Linked DNA regions of Homo sapiens: region 1 is linked to region 2. Evidence: promoter capture Hi-C in human tissues and cell types (Jung and others, 2019). All regions are on one chromosome and are shown on one strand. Each heading gives the region's core, a stretch centred on a gene start or on the middle of the fragment in contact. The rest is flanking DNA. Distances are from core to core; before and after follow the strand shown. Region 1 has its middle 670 kb from the start of LINC01507. Region 2 holds the start of TLE1 (TLE family member 1, transcriptional corepressor).

Region 1 (4,303 bases), core at 610-3,109, 1.2 Mb before region 2:
ATTTTCTAGCCTTCTCCTCCGAATTCTTCTAGCTTCTATTAATTATCTAGTTCCAAACCAAAGCCATTTCCATATTTTTAGGTATCTGTTATAGCAATAGTTCCATTTGTTGGTACCAATTTTCTTTCTTAGTCAGTTTTCTGCTGTTAGAACAGAACATCCCAAACTGGGTAATTTATAAAGAAAAGAAATTTATTTCTCACAGTTCTGGAGGCTGGGAAGTCCAAAAGCATGGTGTCAACATCTGGCAAGGAACTTTGTGTTTCATCACCTCATGATGGAAGATGTAAAGGCAAATGTGAAACAGAGGAGGGAGGGGCAAACTTTATTCTTTTATCAGGAACCCATAATTGCAATAACTAAGCCACTCCCTCAATAACACCATTAATCACCTCACATCTTAAATACTACATCTCTTAATATTGTCACAACGGCAATTAAATTTCAACATGAGTTTTGAAGGGGACATTTAAACCACAGCATTGAGTTTGTTCACATTGTGTTATCCAGGAACATCAAGAGAATAAGCTTTAAATCTTCTTGAAACTTAAGCGGAGAACTCACATGACACCTTCCACATCACATTGGTCAAAGCAAGGTGTCAGGTCAGCTTTGGGAAGTCCCAATGGAGGGAATCCCCAGATTCAAGGGAAGCAAAACGGTGTGGTATTTTTCTTAATTTACCACTACTGAGAACATTAGCCTCACTTTATCCTGTCCCTAGATTAAAATACAATTAAAATTCCAATTGTCTTTTAGTGATCAAGGAAATTAAACTTTCTCTTCCTATACTCATCCTCATCTGTGTTTCCATTATATTCTTGTCAGACAGAAGCCTTACCACCATTTCTAAAATGAAAATTCTCAGCCAAAACAAAGCATGATTTTGGTTTTAAAGTAACCATTCCCACAAAGCTAAGATTTGAATTTTTAAGTTCTAACTGGCCTGTTCCATAAAAAGGAAAAATCTATTTTGTCTTGGTTCTTCCTCTTAGTATCCCTGCTTTTCAAGAACATAATTATACTTCATTCTTTTGTTGACAAGCTTTGGACATTAACTTGCAAACTCAAGAATGTAATTATCCTTCATTCTTCAGCTTGCAAGTTAACAATCCAATGTTTTAAGTTATGAATGCATGGGTTTTCTTTAGAGACTTATGAAAAGAGAGTTAAGTTTGCAACATAGTAGTTCCCATTCATACTCACTGTGCATCTGAGTATAAATAATCCTGTTAAGAAATGTTGAAGGTGAGTGTGTGTATTTGTTTCTGTGTGTTTGTGTGTGTGTGCATAGAAGGACAGGGCAGGCTAAGTTATGCTGTCCTGTGTTCAGAGAGGAGTAATAAATAAATCCAGAGAAAGCTAACTTGTGAGAAGCAAAAGCAGAGAGATTTTTCTTTCTTTCTTTTTTCTTTTTTTTTTTTTTTAAGAGACTGAGTCTCTCTTGCCCAGGCCGGAGTGCAGTGGGATGATCTCAGCTCACTGCAACCTCCACCTCCCAGGTTCTAGCAATTCTCCTGTCTCAGCCTCCCGAGTAGCTATGATTACAGGCGCATGGCACTATGCCAGGCTAATTTTTTGTATTTTAGTAGAGACATGGTTTCACTGTATTGCCCAGGCTGGTCTCGAACGCCTGAGCTGAGGCAATTCACCTGCCTCGGCCTCCCAAAGTGCTAGGATTACAGGCGTAAGCCACCGTGCCCAACCGCAGAGAAATTTTTCAAAGGATACATCTGCACTACTTCCTGCCCCATTCCTGCAGCTGCTCCATTGCTGGAAGAGCAAATGAAAATTCCCAAAGGCCCCTATATAAATCCCTTTCATTCTGGGGTCATCCATCAGTCTCTGCAACCCAGGAGAAGCCACCACTGGCTGCTCGCTGTGTGCTTCTGTTTATATGAGTTTTTATCCTGTTGCTGAGAACCCTGTCAGATGACGAGCAAGCCACATTTACCTGTAACAGCCTTACACTAGCTTGTGATGCCTAATCTCTTTTATTGATCCTACTTGCTGGTTTCTGGAGACCATCAATTTTCCTGGCTGTCAGTCTGTGGCCTTGCCTCCTTAATGTTTATTTAGACCAGCCTCCATAAATTGCTTCTGGTACGAAGGGTGAGGAAGGCAGCAGGAGGTCAGGGGTGCGTGTATACCTGTCCATAAATATAAATCACAGCTTTTGTTCTTTGCTGTTGTTTGTGAACACTGTTTGCGAGGTGAATAAAAAACGGAAGTATTCCACTAAAACGTGGGAAGCCATTACAATTTCCCCTGTGACTGTCTTTTTTTTTTTTTTATTGCAGTCTAGGTTTTCAATTTTCTGTATCTTAATGGTACCTCTTGTTGTCTACTCAAACATGTAATGTTTCTTTTTGTTAAAGTGGAGGAAGAAAAGAGCGAAGGCATTGCTTGTTTGCCAGCACAGAGCTGTACTTTGAATGCAGGTGGGTTGGTTTCTCCTTCCCCCCGACCCAAATTGCTTTTTGTCAACACAAGCATGTATATTCATCAATTTCAGTCTTCCAGAAAAGAGAAAGACTTTTCTCAGTGCTGGAGTTGACAGCACCTTGCTGAACAATTGAACCAGCACTTCTCTTCATTATGAAGCTTATAGAACTATCTATTTAGACAAAGTCCATGGCTGTAGTGGAATAGAACTTTTAAGGTGTGTGGCAGCTCACTGTCAGCACTGTTCTAATAGGGGGTTGAAGGGTGCAATGCAGAGTGCTACTGTACTCGCGATGCCACTGACAAGACCGATTGAACACAAGACAAAATGGAAAATAGTCGCAAGCAGGTGGCTGCTCTGTTATAAATAATTCAAGGGCACGTCCTGCAAAATCCAAGGGAAAAGCCCCACAGCTCATTATAACAGTGAGTTGGTAGACTGCTAGATCCTTAAATCACTGGAAAATGTTTTGCAACAGCTAAGAATTTTTTCTCCTCTGCAGTAGTAGATATCATAGTCACTATGAGGTGACAAGTGGTTCCCCTGAGGCCAGGAGGACAGCAATCAATAGAGGAGGGTAGCCTGGGCCACGACTCTCTCAGTTGATACAGAAGCATTGTGTACAGATACAATGCTCAGAATAAATCATCAGGAAAAAGAGAAGCCTCTTCAAGACAGGAAAAGAGGTACCTCCCAGAAAACATCTTATGGAACAGTTAGTTTGATTTAGTTGTCTCTGTTTTAACTTAGCTTTTTCATATTAGTTAATAGTCCGGGTCCGCTCTACTTATATAGCCTTGCTTCCAGATCCTTCCCTAAGAATGCTTCTGTTTTCTCACTTTATCACCTGTAGCCCTCACATGGGCTCCACAATTTTATGTGCTCTTCTCATTTTCTACCTTTCAAATCTTTTATTAATTTTTATTATTAATGCAGATGTCTTTCCATTCTTCGGAAATCTTACAGCACATTTAGTGCATACCAGAGTATGGTTACTTATATTTGGTGCCTGCATCAGCAAAGACAAGCTCATTCTCCCTGCAGTAACAGATAAACCCCATATCACAGTTCTTAAACAAATAAAGACATATTTCTTGCTCACAGAACAGTGTGAATCTGGACCTCTCCCTAGCAGCTTCCTTTCTAGCAGTGGCTCAAGGACCCAGGCTCCTTCTGGCTTACAGTGATATACACAGCCTACCCAACAGGTACAGAGAAGAGAGAGTATGGACTATCACACAGTGGTTTTATAACTAGATCTGAAGACAGCACATTTCTACTTTAGAAAATAATTCTTTTTAAATATTTGGCTATTTCTTTAATCTGAAATAATTGTGCCCCTAACCCATCAACTCTCAGATAAATTCCAAGTTTATCAATGATCCACACATAAAAACTTCAGAATTATAAAATATTAGAGGAATATTGCTTTTTGAATAGGAAAGTCTTTTTGAGGCAATGCAAACAAAGCCAGAAGTTATAAGAGAAAAGACTGATAGATTGACTACCCCAAAATTTTGGAAATCAATTAGGTAAAGTCACCACAATTAAGGTTAAAAAAAATGGCACATGAGAAGAGAATACGGGTAATATATAACACATATGAAACATTAATATTGCTTAAATAAAAAGAGCTCTTACAAATCGGTAAAGTACCAAACAAACTAATGGAAAAAAATGCACAAAAGTCACAACTTAGCCAGTCAAATAAGAAGAATCAACAAAAATAGAAAAATATGCCTAATATTTCTATTGTTTAGGATGGTGCAAATTAAAATAGTAATGAGATATACATTTTTTACTTTATACCATATACCATCAAAAGTTTAAAAATAATATGGCTGCTAAGATTATGTG
Region 2 (4,831 bases), core at 1,032-3,531:
CCACCCGGCTGGGTGCAAGGGGCACCGGGACGCCCGCGACCACTCGCATGGCGCGGCCGGACACGCACCTGTGATACTGCGCCTGCAGGAACTGGAATTCCTCTTTAATCCGGTCCAGGGACTCCGGGATAGTGAACTTGAAGGGCTGGCCTGCAGCCTGGTGCGGCGTCTGGGGGCGACCAGCGAGGGGGACCGAGGGACGGGAATGCGGGCGGATGAATAAAGCAGTAAGTCAGAGAAGGCAAGAACGGGTGGGACATAAACATAAAGTTAGAAGTGGCTGAAAACGAGGCCCCAAACTCGAGTTTGCCCTTCACTATGGGGAGGGGGAAAGCGGACCCTCCCCGGGCCCCGGCTTCTAAAGAGGCTCGGAAGCTCTTCCCAGTCTCCAGGGCGGATTGCGCTAAGTGCGCCCGGGTCACCAGGCCAAAGGGAAGGGGGCTCCCCGGCGGCCAGGGAAGACCAGGCCAGATTGTCGGTGTCGCCGCCCCTTCCCCCACGGCGGCGATAATGACCCCGGGGACCAGAGGAGAAAAACAACTCCTTTACGCTCCCCATTCCCAGAGTCGCCGGGGCCACCTCCAGACGCACCGGAACCGGGGCCGCATTGACATGTAAATAGGCGAGAGGAGAAACAAAGGGGGGGGCGCCCTGCCCCCACTCGGGGAAGGTAGAGGGGATATGGCTGCAGGAGAGAAACCCCAGCCTTCCCCAGCGCCCCTGTCCGCTCGGTATAGACGTCAAGTAGGAAGGAGCCCAAAGGGAGGGAGAAAATTAAGAGTTTCGGCCCACTCCCCACCCCAGGAAGAGAGGGCCCCAGACCTCCCCAGCCTTACACCGCTGAGGGCGAGAAGGTCCGCCGGGCCTCAGAAGCCACCAGTCTCCCTACCGCCCGGGAGAAGCGCCTCCCCAACGATCCTGGCCCCCCACCACCACCCAGCCGCGCCTCACCGGGTGCCGGCTCTGCGGGAACATCGCTCTGGCGGCGGCCGGGGCTCTGTTCCCCGGCAACTCAATTCTCCGGTCAATTTCCAACTTTAATCCCGCCGAGGAAAATTAAGCCGGAAAGCCAAGCAGAAGCGGGGAGCGCGCTGGCCACGCACGCGCGCTCCGCCGGGCGCACCGGCCACTCGGCGCCCGCAGCTGCTCCGGCTCCCGCTCCCGTCGGTGCGGGCTCCGGCCCTCAGGGCCACATTAGTGGGCGCCCCAGGCCCAGCTGCTTCAAGAACCTGCGCGGAGACGTCGGGCGCTCGGGGACTGTGCGCGGGGGCAGCGCTCCAACCCCCGGCCTCAGCTGCCCGGGCGGGGAGGCGGGGGCGCGGTGACTCCGACCGCACTCCCCTCGGCGATCCGCGTGCGCGGCGCCAGTCCTGGGCAAACAAATCCAGACGGACTGCTTTTCTTTGCTCTTCTCCTGGTCCGCCTCCTCTTCGGGCTTTCCCCGAGGCGGCGGCGGGCGAGGTGCAGGTGGCGCGGCGGCCCCCGCTAACCCCACACAAACCCGACGCTTTCGGGGCGACTCCCGCAAGATTCGGCTGCGCCTTCGGCCGGGTGCTCGCAGGCTCCCGGGACGCAAAGGGGAGCGAGGTTGAAGACGCAGCGGAGGCTCCTGGCCGGGGAGCGACGGATGACGAGGCGGGGAAAGTGCGGAGGGCGCGCCGGGAGGCGGCTCGGCACGCCCCGTGCGACCAGCACTCGGTGTTCTCCGCGGTTGCACAAACCCTCCGGGCCCGACGGGGCTACTCCACCGAGAGCAGTCCCGCAAGTGCCCAATGCTCCTCGAGCCCGGGGAGCATCAGGGCGCCGCGCCTCGGGCGCACTCGCCCTGCACGGCCGGACCGGCCGCTCCGGACCCTTCTTCCGAGCTCCTTCTTCCTCGGTCTTCTTTCTTTCCTTCCTTCACCTTCGTGTGCTTCTCCGCAAAGGGCGCTCCAGCCCACTGCAAAGTTCTCTCACCACCCGAGGGACGACATCCACGAGATGGTGGGGAAAACAGCAGGAGTGCGCTCCGCCAATCGGCCACCCTCCCCGGCGGGCAAACTCTGCGGGCGAGTCCAGAGTAGTCACAGCGGTGGGGCCAGCGGGGGTTTTGGTCGCCGCGGGACGACGGAGGTCCGGGCTGGTGGCGCGGGTCCCGCCCGGCCGTGCGAGGGTGGGGTGGCGCAGTCGGCTGCCTCCGGGACGCGGGGCACAGAGTACCCGCCGCTGTTTCTGCTGCTGCTGCTTCTGCAGCCGCCGCTCCCACCGCCGCCGCCGCCCGCGCCTCTCGCGCCGCTTACATTAACACGCGGTTTCACACTCCGGAGCTAACCAGCGCCGGCCCCGCCCAGCCCCGTTCGGGCGGGGGGCGCGAGCGCGGAGCCGGCGGGGGACGTGAGCCCGGGAGGTTGGGGGGTGGGGGGGGGGCAGAAGGCCCGCATCAGCCAATCGCGTGCGCTGCAACCAACGTGGGGCGCTGACGCGCTCCTCCCCGGAGCGTATGGCAGCGCAGCGCCGGACGGGGCGTTCTCCCTCCCCCCCTCCTCTCGCTTCCATCTCCGCCGTCTCCTCGGTCTCCCTTCCCATCCCGGCCCCTCCTCCGCCAGCCGCGTCCTCCCGGGCTTGGTGAGGAACTGTTCCTGGAGGAGCCGCGGGACGCCAAAACCAGCCAATGGGAAGCGGCGATTCGCGGAGATTGGCACTGATGATGGGAAGGTCGGTGGGAAGGAGAGCGGCGGGGCTGGGCTGTCAATCAAAGTAACGTGGGGCTGGCTAGAGAGCGCGCGGGCGCGCGCTAGCGGGAGGGACTGGCGAGCGTGCAGCCGGGGAAGCTGAGGGCTCGAGTTAGCAAAAATCCTGCCACTTGCTCACTTTTCCCTTTAATGAAAATCCTCAGATCTAAGTGAAAGTAACTCAAAGACTAGCTGCGGAGTTTCTTATTGGAGGCGGAGGGGGGCTTTTGGTAATTCGAGCAAATGTGTTTTTCAGTGCTGGACCCCTTGTTTGATGCTACTCTAAAAGTGAGGCCACATTCAAAAATTTATCTGAGGTTTGTTTTTCCTTGAGCTGCCTTTTTACGGATGTACGAGAGGGAGTGGACTGTGCACTTAGTTGGAAATGCGTAAATGAGCAACGCCACGGTTGGCGTAGGTACACCAGCAAAGACGACTGTGATGTCCTCCCACCCCACCCACCCCCTTTGCACCCAAAGTGGTAGGATTTGATTTTTATTGCAGGATTTCAAGCCACTTTTCAAAAAGATCGTCCTGTCCCGTTTGGCGGGAAGGATTCCCAGGGTGCTGCCAGAACAAGGCACGCGTGTCCGCAGATGAGACGTTTTGCCCGGGGCGCGAAATCCCAGGTCTTCGTCTTAAAAGTCCTGACTTCGCTGTGTTGGGAGAGGTGGGGAGCGGCTGAGGTTTTTAGGAACTTCTCAGCTACAAGACTACGAGTCTGTTTCCAATTCCTGGGAACAAAGAGAGACAATGTAATAAACCAGCACTGAGACCTGAAAAACCTGTCCCGCACACCCCACCCCCACAGTCTGGGTGGTACTCCTGAGCTGAGCTGTGTGAAGAGCTAAATGGGAAGAGTTAGGTAAATGACGTGGCTAAGGTTCTTATGAAGTGGAACTTGAGTTAAAAGGGATTTTGAGATTGTAATAATCAAGACATGCTGTATAATTAATGCTGAGAGTCTTTGGTTTTTGTGTATGTCTCTAAATACACAGCAGAAAACCGTCAGTATTGCCGCATTTATGCTTTTGTTTGAGGAACATTTCCACATGAGCAGTGAATGAATAATGCTGGTTTAGCCAAACGGTGGTAACTTCTTCCATAAGGGCACATCTTGGACAAGTATTTATCTTATGTTGGAAACTAGTTAAGTTTTTGGTATTAATAACCCCCACGTTATTATTTTATTATTTTACCTTCAAGAGACTTACGGGAAGGAGCTTATTTAAACAGACATACATTTTATTTAAAGATGTGCTTTTACAGAGTTCTTTTTCTTGAAATAGTTTTAGAAGTCATTTTAGATAATACATTTCACTGTTGGAGTTGTTTTTAAATATGTATGATATTGATTTGTCTATAATTGCATCACTCCCAAATATCAATTATAAATGAAAAAATAAAAAAGCGATTTTAACCAGTCTGTACGAAGCCATAGTAAATTCTTAAACAAGTTGGGCATTGTAGCTTTGTGGTGTTCTCATTAAGTACAGTTGGGAAGGCGGCTGTATTATTCATTTTGCTAACATGGAGAACAAAAAAGAAGAAAGCACTGCCTCACTTTCCTTGGTTAAATTTGGTGACGATGACAGTTTTGCTCGACATACAGGACTTTTTGGAATCATAGGATCCCAGGGCCTTTAGCAACCTGTTTTCCTTGAAATTATCTAGTGATTGAGCCACATATACCAGTCTGCGGCCAGTTCATCCCATAATCAGCTCCAGGACCGGACAGAAAGTGCTTGGATGCCACAAGTATGCTTGTATACATGCTGTGACAACTGGAGCAACTGATATTCCTCCCCGGCTTACCCAGGCTTTATGTGGTGCCTGTATCTTGAATAACTGGCACACTCCCATTAAGTTTAAACAGAGCCATTAAAATATGCTTTGAGATGGGGCAAAAGTGTTGCTACTTCTCTTCTTTCCCCACCCCGCTGCCCTCAAAATCAGTACTAAGGCATCTTTAAATGTTCTCTAACATAACTACTCACAGACAATGTGTCTGCTCACCATATTTCCCAGTTTGCCATGAGTAAACACTAGAAATTCTCTTTTAACTAGTCTTTCCTTGCCAATAGAGTTTGAAACACCAGGCCTTCTGATTTCCTTATAAT

Evidence for each region. Contacts are between HindIII fragments. The study calls those that stand out against the background at their distance.
Region 1: a fragment that was not itself captured here is called in contact with the fragment with the promoter of TLE1 in region 2 in 1 of the 25 tissues and cell types used here (mesenchymal stem cells).

The regions. Positions count from the first base shown.
Region 1 is chr9:80,495,372-80,499,674 of GRCh38, forward strand. No RefSeq gene overlaps it. Among named protein-coding and RNA genes, the nearest start is that of LINC01507, 670 kb to the left of the region's middle. The HindIII fragment of the contact is 3,236 bases long and covers 242-3,477 here.
Region 2 is chr9:81,687,266-81,692,096 of GRCh38, forward strand. TLE1 (TLE family member 1, transcriptional corepressor) reads right to left here and starts at 2,282. Exons shown (of 20, transcript NM_005077.5): 1 at 952-2,282; 2 at 69-169. The coding sequence starts at 975. It overlaps TLE1-DT (TLE1 divergent transcript), which reads left to right and starts at 2,448. Exons shown (of 4, transcript NR_109772.1): 1 at 2,448-2,694. RefSeq lists an enhancer at 1,593-2,307 and silencers at 2,180-2,529, 2,680-2,829. The HindIII fragment of the contact is 9,578 bases long and covers 1-4,831 here.